2 separate regions of the Homo sapiens genome follow, and region 2 is linked to region 1. Evidence: promoter capture Hi-C in human tissues and cell types (Jung and others, 2019). All regions are on one chromosome and are shown on one strand. Each heading gives the region's core, a stretch centred on a gene start or on the middle of the fragment in contact. The rest is flanking DNA. Distances are from core to core; before and after follow the strand shown.

The links. The method cuts DNA at HindIII sites, captures the fragments that hold promoters and counts their contacts. A contact is called where the count stands out against the background at its distance.
Region 2: a contact is called between a fragment that was not itself captured here and the fragment with the promoter of PPP1R3C in region 1, in 3 of the 25 tissues and cell types used here (IMR-90 fibroblasts, aorta and bladder).

What each region holds. Positions count from the first base shown.
Region 1 is chr10:91,630,372-91,636,655 of GRCh38, reverse strand. It overlaps PPP1R3C (protein phosphatase 1 regulatory subunit 3C), which reads left to right and starts at 3,585. Exons shown (of 2, transcript NM_005398.7): 1 at 3,585-3,700; 2 at 5,790-6,284. The coding sequence starts at 3,687. RefSeq lists enhancers at 2,953-3,452, 3,453-3,954 and a silencer at 3,479-3,618. The HindIII fragment of the contact is 3,936 bases long and covers 998-4,933 here.
Region 2 is chr10:91,523,576-91,529,748 of GRCh38, reverse strand. HECTD2-AS1 (HECTD2 antisense RNA 1) reads left to right here. Exons shown (of 5, transcript NR_024467.1): 3 at 4,600-4,721. Among named protein-coding and RNA genes, the nearest start is that of HECTD2-AS1, 85 kb to the left of the region's middle. The HindIII fragment of the contact is 4,109 bases long and covers 1-3,479 here.

The DNA.
Region 1 (6,284 bases), core at 2,336-4,835:
ACCGGATTCTTATAAAGATTACATGAGTTAATATTTCTAAGTGCTTAAAACAGTGCCGAGCCCAAAGTAAGCAGTATATGTTTTTCAGGTTGTATCCTTTTACTTAATATTGGAGTTCCTGTTGAATGTAGCTAAAGAAGGAAGAAGAAAATAGTGTACAAGAGCGCTTACTATTAACTGAGACAAATGAATTGGCACCTTTTTTGTTCTCCAAAATGCAAAACCTGCTCCTTTTAATAATAATTAAAAAAAAAAAAAACCAGTTCGCAACTTCCCTGACTCTTTCACTGAAACTCCGTAAGTGATCTTCAAGATCACTTACGAGGTTTCTCTCAGTTACCACTAACTGTGGTTAAAGTACTGACATTTTTATATTAATAACTATGAGGCTGAATTCTCAAGTACTTTCTTGATTAGGCACTGAAAAAAGACAAGCTTGCAGAAAATGAGTTGGCAACTTGGCAACCCCCCAGGGTGTTTTTCCAAAGGCAGCTCTCAGGCAACGTGTTGAGTGAATGCTGTAAGAGACCCACTTGTGTAAGCCCCACAATTATCAGCTCCTTGCTTAGTAGCTTCTTAAAATGTCTGCTGGGTATTCTATGAATTTGTTTTTCTGTAATAATGATTGTAACCTCCTCAAGGTCAAAGGATTATGACTGCTCAGACTTTGTAACCCCTGGCATGGAGCTGGAACTACTGCATAGCTCAATAATTTCCTGCTGATAGATTGATTGTTAAGATGGGTAGGACCAAGCAATGTTTAGATGCTGCCAAACCACAGTGGGAGAAATCCTACGAATAATAGTACAACTCCCCACGATTCCTTTCTACTCTGTCTTCATTGGTGCAACCTACAACTAAGAACACTGATTCCATCCTAGTTTCTCTCATCCAATAATGAAGGGGAGCAAAAGCTGGGAAGGAGACAGAAGTGAAAAGCCTGGATCATCCAATTTAGAGGTTTATTGAGTGAGTGTTGAGTCCTTTTAGGAGAAAGCATGGTCTCCCTGAATCTTCCATTTGAAGGAGCTGAAAGGGAGAGTGACTTCTATGGCATTAGTCAACACCAGGGGGCAGGAGAGAAAGCTGTATGAATGGAACAGGCTGAAAGGGTGGTGTGAGTAAATGGCACAAGCATGTGAAAATTTCCACCACGGTTCTTGGCACCTAGCAGTACGCTATATGTGTTAGTTGAATCCCAGAGTTTTAACGCCCTTGAAAAATTATTTCTTAATTAGGTCGTGTATGTTCATTGTAGAAAAATTAAGAAAAACAACAGAGCAGCAAAACAACGAAGACATTTTTAATCACTCATAATCTCACCATTCCAAAATGAACTGTTCACATTTCTGTAGAGCACATTCTGTTTTCTATGCATGGATACCTTTCCCTCAAAATGCGATCACCATAAATTGTTATTCATGTTTCTCCATAGTTTTAACTGGTAATATTTACTATTTAGCTCAACATATAATCATGGGTAGAGGAAAAGAATACCCAGGGTTCTAGTTTTGGCTCAGACCTAGCCAGCCCCTGGCAAGCAGCTTGACCTGTCTAAGCTTTCAGTTCCTCATCTGTGAAATAAAGAGTTTGATGCCTATCACCTCCTACCTCCATAATTCTAACCATTGATGGGTCATTAAAATAAGACAATATGGTGCAGCGGTTATTGCTCTGGTATCAGCCAGGCTCTAATCCCTGCTCTACCTGTGAGAACCTGGGCAGGTTTTTTTTTTGTTTTTTGTTTTCGAGATAGAGTCTCGCTCTGTTGCCCAGGCTGGAGTGCAGTGGTGCAATCTCAGCTCACTGCAACCTCCGCCTCCCGGGTTCAAGCGATTCTCCTGCCTCAGCCTCCAGAGTAGCTGAGAGTACAGGTGTGCACCACCATGCCCGGCTAATTTTTGTATTTTTAGTAGAGATAGGGTTTCACCATGTTGGCCAGGCTGGTCTTGAACTCCTGGCCTCAAGTGATCCACTGGGCAGATTTCCTGACCATTCAGTGTCTCCGTTTTCTTTTCTCTAAAATGGGATTAATAATTGGACATATCACATAGGGTTGTTGTGAGGATTGAATTGATAGCACATAGTGTTTGGCACAGAGTAAAGGCTCAACAAGCAGCAGCTATTCTCAATATTTTAGCTCAGGCACCAGGCGCCTTGAGGTGATAGAGTAAAAACTCTAGCTGAGAGATCAAGTAGAAACTTGGGAACTAGCCCGGGTGGAACACAGGCACTGGGCATCGTGCTGAGTCTGTTCATTGGCACCATCTTACTTCATCTTCAGAACGTTACTATCTCTGTTTTACACATGAGGAAACTGAGGTTAGAACTTGCCTAGATTCGTGTAGCTAGTAAGTGTCAATCCAAAGACCTTCCAGCTAGTTTTGGTTGAGCTAAAGGGGCTAGAAGACCTGCCATTAGTTAGATATTTCATTTCAAAAATAAAACCCAGGCATGAAGTCCCTTTCCCAGTGATATTCAGTGTGATTTTTTTCTTCACTCTAATAATTTTAACAATTCCACTGTTTGACAGTTGTTTAAAAGACATAGGAATTTTTGTATATTTTAATTGACTAATGGATAGCTCAATTAGGGGAGCAAAACTAGGATGTGGGTTTTATAAAAATAATTTAGACTTGACTTAGACATTTAATTTTACAGTTGTAAATGATGGTCTAAAAATTCTTCAAACTAATCAAAATAATGAAACTTCAGCGAAAGTGAGTGGCTCAGAAGGCCCATGAAACATACGGCGTGATTTTTTAAATTTTATTTTAACATTTTGATTTCCACACCACTGCCAAAGGACGTCAGAATTGAGTAAGGGGTTTGGGTTGACTGCTGCCTCTTGACCGGCTGTATGTGTGAAAAGGGTCATTTCACTTCCGGCTTTAGTGTTCCCCGCAGGGGAGAAAATTGAAGAATAGACAGAAATACGAAGTGTCTTTTAATTAAATGCCACCTTGGTGTTTTATGGGGCTCGTATGCTTTCCTAACAACATTTGTTAGATAAGTTGGTAATTCCCGGCAGCTGTCTACTGTGTGGTGCATCTGTGAACTCATACTAATCGAAAAGCATGCAGCCAGTTTGGGATCGCGCAGGCTAAGGTGAGGGAGAAATGCGGATACACCGGGTAATGAACGATATAAACATTTCAAATGCGATACACATTCGGTTTGAGCCACATCTTCTGTGTGCAGATTCACCCGCAGTGACCCACAAAGCTATTCCCAAGTAACAGCCGCCCCAAGCCTGAGGCACTGGCGCCCCGCCTGGGCGAGGCTGGCTGCGCTCTCTCTTGGCCGGCGCCCGCTGCATGCGGTACGTGCCTGCCCGGCCCCTAGCCCAGGGTTCCCGTTACGCGGCTGGTTCCAGCTGGCCGCGGAGTCCCAGAACCTCCCCGCGATGCCCAGATAGCTCTCTGCACGTCTCGCCCCGGGGCGATCACGTTGCCGGGGCGAGGGCTGGCGCCCCAGCTGGGCGCTGGTTGGTCGCGCCCTGGGGCTCGAGGCCCGGCGATTGGTCCCAGGGATCGGGTCACGTGCTTGGGAGCAGATAAGCGGCCTCTAGGCGCCGGGCCCTCAGTCTCTCCCAGCGACCGCCGCGGGGGCAAGGCCTGGAGCTGTGGTTCGAATTTGTGCAGGCAGCGGGTGCTGGCTTTTAGGGTCCGCCGCCTCTCTGCCTAATGAGCTGCACCAGGTAGGTTCGCTGCAACTCTGCGCGCTAGGAACACAGGGGAACGCGCAGCTGTGGGGAAGTTGGGGGGCGTTTCAGTTCTATCATCTCTGGAAATGGACACCCCAGGGGGAGGACAAGTGGACTGACTGCGTAGTTGAATCTGGCAACCGAGAGGCCTTGGAGGTGTAGAAATTTGGCTCTATTTCTTAAGCAGAGCCTATTTTAGTAATCAGCATCTTAAAGCAGAAATTATCTTAACGTGAATCAGCTTGAGTTAGGATTTTCTCATGGATGCGGCTGTTCTTTTGGTCCTGCACAAATGTCCCAAAGACTCGGGCAGCTGAAGTGGTGAGAACAGCACTCTGACATTGCTGGTTAGGTGGTTTAGCTTGGAGGAAAAAAATTACAGGACGACGTTTGCATTCATTCGTCCTTCTTATCACAGTTTGCCATAGCAAAATCTCAAGAGTTTGAGCAAACGATTACTTTTAACTCTTGTCCAGGACTTAAAGTTCCAAGGAAATCACCCAAACTAAAACTGTCTTTCTATAAATGCAAAAAGTAAAAAAAAAAAAACAAAAAAACCAAAAAAAACCTCCCATAAAACTACTTTAAATAGCTTCTCCAGACATAGCTTAGCAGAAGACTTCTCTAAAAATCCTGCCTATTAACTATTATTAGACCCACAAATATAGCTTTAGCTTTCATTTGTTTGTTCTAAGTTTGCAGATCTCCCAGAAAAACCCCAGAGCTAACACAGTAAATTCTGCGAGTGTTATTACACACTTTTGTGATAATGACCACTTGCATACATGTTTAGAGCTGCTGTGAGGAGAGTTACTAAAGCCAGACTGAGAAATGTCGTGTACAGTATACACACACCTCTTACTTGTAAGGCTAAGATAGGGAAAAAAATCTTAATACCATAAGCTTGGAAATATATGATGAGGGCTAAAGGTCAGAGAAAAGTCTTCTTTATAGATGCTTCTTGGTTTAATATTGCTGAGCATAGTCATGTTTAAAACTTTAAATGGTTTTATTGTCTTTCTACTTATAAATGTCTATTAGAAAATGCCAAAAAAGAACAAAAACGAAAATAGATAATCTATAATCCTATCACCCAGAAATAATAATTATTAAATTATTAGGAAAGGTGTATTTCCTATAGAGTTTTTCAATATTTATAAGTTTGTATATATAAAATGTATATTTTAAAACACTCCAACTTTCAGGTAATCAGTTTTTCCACTTAAATGTGGACTTGTCATGGGCATCTCTTTAGGTGAATTATCAATTATATAGTTTTTAAGTGCATATGAATTGTTGGCTTGTATTTCAGTGGTTATTTGTGAAAAATAAGAGCATGATAATCAAAGTGCAAAGATGATTCTTTGACTTCTTCTCTAGCCTTCTCACTCTCAAAACTGTTGCATGTTATTTTTTTTTTTTCAAGTGAATTACCTTACCAGAGAAGTGTCAATCAATTTAGCAGCAAAATAAGCCAACGTAGCCAGAGGGAGCAGAGGGTCTGGAACTGTGGCTCCTGAACCTGTCTGGTCATTAGAATCACCTGGGAAGCTTTAAGAACATACCCATCCCTTGGCCCTAGCCCCAGAAGTTCTGCCTCAGTAGTTCTGAGTCCCAGGAATTGGAAAGAAAGAAGAAAGAGAAAGAGAGAGAGAGAGGAAGAAAGGAAGGAAGGAGGGAAGGAGGAAAGGAGGAAAGACAAGAAAGAAAGAAAATGAATTCCCTAGACATAGTGACCAGACAGGTTTGAGGACCACTGGTCCAGAACAGAGCACACAGTTCTCAAGGCTGCCTTGGAGATAATCAAATCGAACCCTTTTATTTCTCAGATGGGGAAACTGAGACCCCCATCACCCTCTAAGTGTTTTAAGCAATTAATAGCCTTTAGCCGGCCAAGGGTAGAGGTAGACATAGAAGATCTGATCACTTAATACTGTTCTCTTTTACTACATATGATAGCACCTGCCTGATATCTAGTGCACTGGCTATAATTCAGTCAGCACAAAAATAGTACATATGTATTTGGCACTGGGGAAGAGCATTTCCGATCCAGGTGATAATCCCTCTTCTTTTTGCATTCCAGAATGATCCAGGTTTTAGATCCACGTCCTTTGACAAGTTCGGTCATGCCCGTGGATGTGGCCATGAGGCTTTGCTTGGCACATTCACCACCTGTGAAGAGTTTCCTGGGCCCGTACGATGAATTTCAACGACGACATTTTGTGAATAAATTAAAGCCCCTGAAATCATGTCTCAATATAAAACACAAAGCCAAATCACAGAATGACTGGAAGTGCTCACACAACCAAGCCAAGAAGCGCGTTGTGTTTGCTGACTCCAAGGGCCTCTCTCTCACTGCGATCCATGTCTTCTCCGACCTCCCAGAAGAACCAGCGTGGGATCTGCAGTTTGATCTCTTGGACCTTAATGATATCTCCTCTGCCTTAAAACACCACGAGGAGAAAAACTTGATTTTAGATTTCCCTCAGCCTTCAACCGATTACTTAAGTTTCCGGAGCCACTTTCAGAAGAACTTTGTCTGTCTGGAGAACTGCTCGTTGCAAGAGCGAACAGTGAC
Region 2 (6,173 bases), core at 176-2,675, 100 kb after region 1:
TCGCCATAGCCCCTTTGCATCTGCATATAGAAGCTCAGAAGGAACACAATCCTTCCATTGAAAAATAACACCTCCTGAAGTCCCAGACCTGGTCTTGTATCCTCCCAACACTCCAACACTGCCATCACAAATAGGATTTTAGGTAGAAGACCTGGGTGGGGACTGTCTCCCCGTTTATCAAAACTGGCTTTTTAGCCAGTGAGGGAGTGGGAGGCCTCCTTTTTCAAGGCCTTCTCTGTGCTCTTGGGTGGGATGGAAGGACCAGCCTTTTGGTACAGAGATGATCTGATTGTTTCCCCCATTGTTGTGTCCTTGAAAGGTGGAACTGATGAGAGCAAAACTCTAGACAGCTCTGGAGGAGGTGCTTTGGTTGTGAGAGGAGGCTGAATCTGAATAGGTGCTCTAGTTCTTATTCATTTCATCCCTGTAGAAGAAAGCACATGCTTCCAGCTTTCAAGAGAATGAAGCAGTGCAGTGGCTGGATCCATATGGTGTCACTGGGATTCGAGTTCATTGGAGACAAAGCTTGATGACTTCCTGGGGACAGACTTTGTTCATAAGTAGTGAAAGCCTGTTTTTTTTCTGGCCCCTTGGGGTGTCACACAGAAGCAATACTGTGCTGCTCACTAATGCTCTATGTCCCCATCATCCTGTGCTGGATGCCCTTTCATGGTTGGGGGAGAGTATGGTGGCTGCACCAACACCAGCAAAGGGTATGATAAGAAAGTGCCAGGTGGTGCCTCCAGGCTGGTTATCAGCTGGACTGCAAGAAAGTGCCAGGTGGTGCCTCCAGGCTGGTTATCAGCTGGACTGCCTTTCTGCACAGACTCCAGGTCTTTGTGAGCCCCAGGCAAATGCCCTATCCTGAGACTCTGGGTGGATCTCGGGCTTTTTCTGTGACCCTTCCAGCTCACCTGGTGCTGGGTGGGTGAAGTAAACAACCTCAGTGATTTGTCTGCACCCATGTTCTCATTGGCCAGAACCATTCTGAGGTCCATGAATCATATCGCATTCAGTTCTGTCAGGAGAAAGGCCTGGTTGTAAAACTTTAGGGAACCAAGGCTCCCTAAGAAATTGTCAAGACTACAGCGTTAACAAAGATGAAGTGGCTTTGCAATGGGAACAGCCCAGCCCCTCAAACTTTTGATCCATTTGTTACACATGCATCTCTGAGCTAACCGCTAAATGCTCCCCATCACTCCCCACAATCCCCAGTGTCCCAGCCCAAGGTGAAGAGAGGCATGAGCGGGCCATTACTGCACATCTGGGCCCAGCAAACTCTGAGGAATCCAGATTGGAATCCCAGGAAGGATCTTATTCAGTAGTTGACCACAGAATAGCCGAGTGGGAAGAATGTGACTTTGGGAGTCCCACGCATCTGCCTTGAATCCAAGCTCTGCTGCTTGCTAGCTGGTGACCTAGTTCTGGGCCTCAGGGTATGACAATGGGGGCTTATGTTCAGTGACCTGCAGGGTCCCTCCCTCTTGAAAGCTCGGGGGTTCTGCCCCGAGGAGTAGGAACTGACCTATTTTACTGGCATGTACTGAGTGTTTTCCAAAACAAAGTCTGGTTACTAATTACCTGACCTACATTCCCTGTGATTGCAATGGCAGGTGGCATATCTGCACATTTCTAAGGAGGAACTGGAAAGGAGCTAATAGGAAGCACTTAGAGGCGAGGCCCTAAGGCTCGTATTGGTTGGGCAGAATTCTGAAATTCTGATTGATGCTATTCTCCATCAACGAAAAGGGGATTTTGGAAGATCCCCTTAGTCTTTAAACACAGAGAAGCACTGTCCTAATATTTTCCTGGTTATAAAAAATAATATGAGCTTATTCTATATATTACATTGCAGGCATGATGGCTCAGGAAGCCTACTGCTGCCTTCCCCCTGCTTCCTCAGCCCCCAGGATAATGTGGTTAACCGTTTGGCTTATATTCTTGTGGGTATTTTCTCCATAGAAACAAACATATAAATCTATTATCTTATGAAGATGAGATCACAGTACACATGCTGATTTGCAGGTTGCTTTTTATACTTAACTGTGTATTTTGGACATTTGTCCATGTCTGTACATGTGATCTATTTTATTCCTTTTAATAAGACATCTTAATGCATTGGGAAATCTAGAAAAGGGAAGAAACCATGAAGCATATAAAGCTTTTCTTTCATTTTAAATATTATTTCTGTATTGGGAAGAGCAGAACATCTGAAATTGTTTTCAAATACTTTAAATAGCATTTACATTTTAAAAATCACAGGAATGATAGTTGTACTGTTGTAGAAAATCAGTGAATACATGGGAAAGACTCAGTATGCCATTCTGACCATTCCTTATTATTATGTCCATTTTGTCTTCAATTCAACTATTCAGATAATAAAAATCTTTCTGTGGTAGGAAAAATACTGGCCCCCAAAGATGTTCATGCCCCAGTCTCACGAAGCTGTGAATGTTACCTTACATGGCAAGTGGGACTCTGCCGATATGATTGAATGAAGGATTTTGAGATGGGTAAATTATTCTGGATTATCTGAATGGGCCCCAGGTAATCACAGAGGCCCTTGTGAGTGAAAGAGGGAGGCAGGAGAGTTGATGACACCCTGTGGCTTTGAAGATGAGGAAAGGGGTCACCAGCCAAGGCCAGTGGGCAGCATCTGGAAGCTGGAAAAGGCAGGAAGCTGTTTCTCCCCTAGAGCCTCCAAAAGGGACGCAGCCCTTCTGACACCGTGATTTTAGCCCAGTAAGACCTATTTTGCACTTTTCATCTCCAGAACTGTGGGATAATAAATTTGTATGGTTTTAAGCCTCTGAATTTGTAGTAATTTGTTATAGCAGCCGTAGGAAACAAGCCCACCTTCATTCATTTGTTTGGCATGCTTACAAATGCTGCGTCTGAAACCGTGAAACCACGACACATCTTGTGATTCTGGGTGACCGGGAACTAACTAACCCAGTTCTCCATATAACATGGTCCTCTGGGGGAACCAAAGTTGGTGTGTGGAAATCTTTTTAGGTTATTGAAATCAAAAAGAAAAACGACAGGAAAAGCTATTAACTTCCAGGAGGATGTACACAGACCCTGGGAGCCCATGGACTCAAGGATTTAAAGTGCCAGAAAGGAGGTAGACTACATATACTCACCCTACTTAATGGATGAATCATGGAGGCTCTGTGAGGTTACTTGTCCAAGGTCACAGGATGAGCTAGGGCCTGAGCAAAAGATGGTCTTCTCTCTCCAGTTCTGTGATGGTTCCTTTGATCTTTAACGGGAACATGCTGGGGCTTGCCACAGGGCCATCAGCATCTTCTGACAGCCATCCACTCTCTGCCAGGCTTCCACTGAGGGGTGGCAGGCAGAAGATGGGTGGGCCCAGATTTGCCCATCCTGGGGGGACTTCCTTTGCAACCTGCTTGCTCCTCATCCACCTCAGCTGGCAGCCTGCCAAGCTCCCTGCTCAGAATCACCAGTGTGGGGTTTGGTACCCCAATCTTGGTCCCTTGTGGTTCTAGATAACAGAGCAATAACCCAGGCAGTCTCCCTGGGTGGCCACGATTTGTGTTTGGTTTGAATTTCCCAATGCCCTCCTTTGAAGGGTCAGAGCAGGGAGAGCTTGGCAGCTGCATCCTCAGCTGTGACGTGCACAGAGAGCTTCCCAACTTTTCATTTGACCACTGGAACCTCAGAAGTGACAGTTGAGTAAGAAAAGTAGGTCACTTGGTACAAAGTGGGGGATTTATTCCTAGATCTCCTTGGACCAGGAAAGTGATCATAGGCTCTTGGCACCTCAGAGGTCAATGCATAATAAACAAGGGCAGTTGTGTAACTTTTACTTAATAAATCACTGAGCACTGATTAGGTGGGCTCTGGTTGGGGCTGTTCATACTCTCAAAGAAGCCCAATTCAGCAACAAAATCTGGAGACAGAAGCCACGTTGATCAGGCACCTTCTGTCTAGGCACTTCACAGGCAGTGTTGCTAGGGTTAGGTACCTGGTATCCATCACCCCTGCTCCGCGCAGGGTTCTAATAGATGGAGTCAACACAAGGCTAACTGAAGAGCAAACTGTCTTCTATAGCATTCAACTCCCAAGTACAGGGCTCTTTTGTCAAATCAGTTTGGAGAAGATCTTGCCTGACTGCTAGCTGTCACTCAAATCTCTTTCCCCTCCTCTTAGATAACAGCTGGACTAATTTTCCAGACTCCTTCACAGTGAGGTGTGGCTGTGTGTGGTAGATGTGCAGGTATGCCTCCAGATGGGCCTTGCTGCAGCAAGTGCAGTCAGTAGACAGTCTCCTGCCATCACCTCCGTCAGGGCCGGCCTCAGCTACAGAGCCTCATCCACTTTGCCTAATGTCACACCCTTCCAGGAGCCTCCTACCTCTGGGGACCACTTGAGGCGCGGCTATTTTGGCTCAATAAAGGACACCACCAATGGGTAACATCCACTGTAGAGGTCCCCACTGGGTTGGCCGTTGGTTTGTCAGGACTGTGTCACGGCTTGACTTCTCCTTCTGCCCAATTCTGTTTCTTCTCCCTTTCCATTCACAAGTATTGACTCCTAATACTTGGAGTGAATCCATCTTGCTTTCTCCTTCAGCCCGCTGAATATGGACTCCAACGGTGCCCTAGGGGATGGTGGAGCCACCAGATGGAAGGAGCCTGGTGATCCCGAGAAGGAGAGATGCCTCGCTGACCTGAACATCTTTCCAGAACTGTTAAGTGAGTTAGAAATGAACTTCTACTATACAAAGCCGCTGAAATTTGGGCATCTGTTACTTTAGTTGGCCTACTGAAGCTTCTCTCCTCTCCTCACTTACCTCTCCAGATGCAATGGCAGGTCTTTCGGGGTGGGGGTGGGGCACTGATCAGAACTGCCTGGAAGCTCAAGTACCCACTATACCTAGGCTCAGGCAGGCCAGAGATTCCCAGAGAACGAGAGAGAAGAACAAGGCTTGAAGTGCCTTTTCTGTGCAGAAATCCATACTTTATCAAAATGTGGCCAATTGCTACCAGGCTCTCCTCAATAAAGAAGCAACTGCCCTCCCTTGGGGGCAGCAGTCAGAGTGGAGAGAAAATAAGTTCTCATTCTAACTCTCCTTGAGGGAGAGGAAAATCAAAGTCCTGTGTTTTCTGTAGGAAGGTTGGTATGCAGGAAGAGGAGCCATTTACCCAAGAATGGGAAAATTCAATTCTTTCAACAATTTATAAAGAGGTACATAATGTGGATGGATAGATGGTATATATCAGTAGATAGATTATACATAGGTAATAGAGATGGTAGACAGATAAGGATGATAGAGACAGATACATGATAGGTTGATATGTAGAGAGATGATAGGTTGGTAGCTGGATAGGTAAGTAGGTAGGAAATCGAGGCTCAGAGATATTGAGGTAGGTTCTTATGGTCATATAACTAGTATGTGACAGAGGAGGATTCAACTTTAGGTCTAGTTTGACTCAGAAGTGGGATTCAGGCTGGGCGTGGTGGCTCACCCCTGTAATCCCAGCACTTTGGGAGGCTGAGGCGGGTGGACCATTTGAGGTCAGGAGTTTGAGACTAGTTTGGCCAACATGCTGAAACCCCATCTCTACTAAAAATACAAAAAAATTAGGCAGGTGTGGTGGCACATGTCTGTAGTCCCAGCTACTGGGGAGGCTGAAGCAGGATAATTGCTTGAACCTGGGAGGTGGAGGTTGCAGTGAGCTTAGATTGCACCACTGCATCCCAGCCTGGGCTACAGAGCCAGACTCCGTCTCAAAAAAAAAAAAAAAAAAAAAAAAAAAAAAAAGTGGGCAGGTGTGCAAAACCCAGCTCCACATCCTTTCTTCCGCTGAGGATGGCAAAGAACGTGTTTCGTTTGCTCCATACACAGGGTTTCATTTGCCTGACATGATGTTTTGTTTGCTTTTGTTCTATTTTATTATGTTAAGAATTCATCTACTTGTAGCTTGAATTTTGTCATCTAGTAGGTTTTGTTTGTTTGTTTCAGGTGAGCATTTAAGGGCTGCATTCTCTAAATTCATGCATGTTCAAACATATTTTTTACTTTTTTATTTGAAGGACAACTCAGGTTGCTGCACAATTTCTTAGTAATCCCTTTTCTCAGAACTCTTGTCATGGTTTTATGACAAGTTTTCTTGCTGTTTGGGAAAATTATGGAATATCTGAAG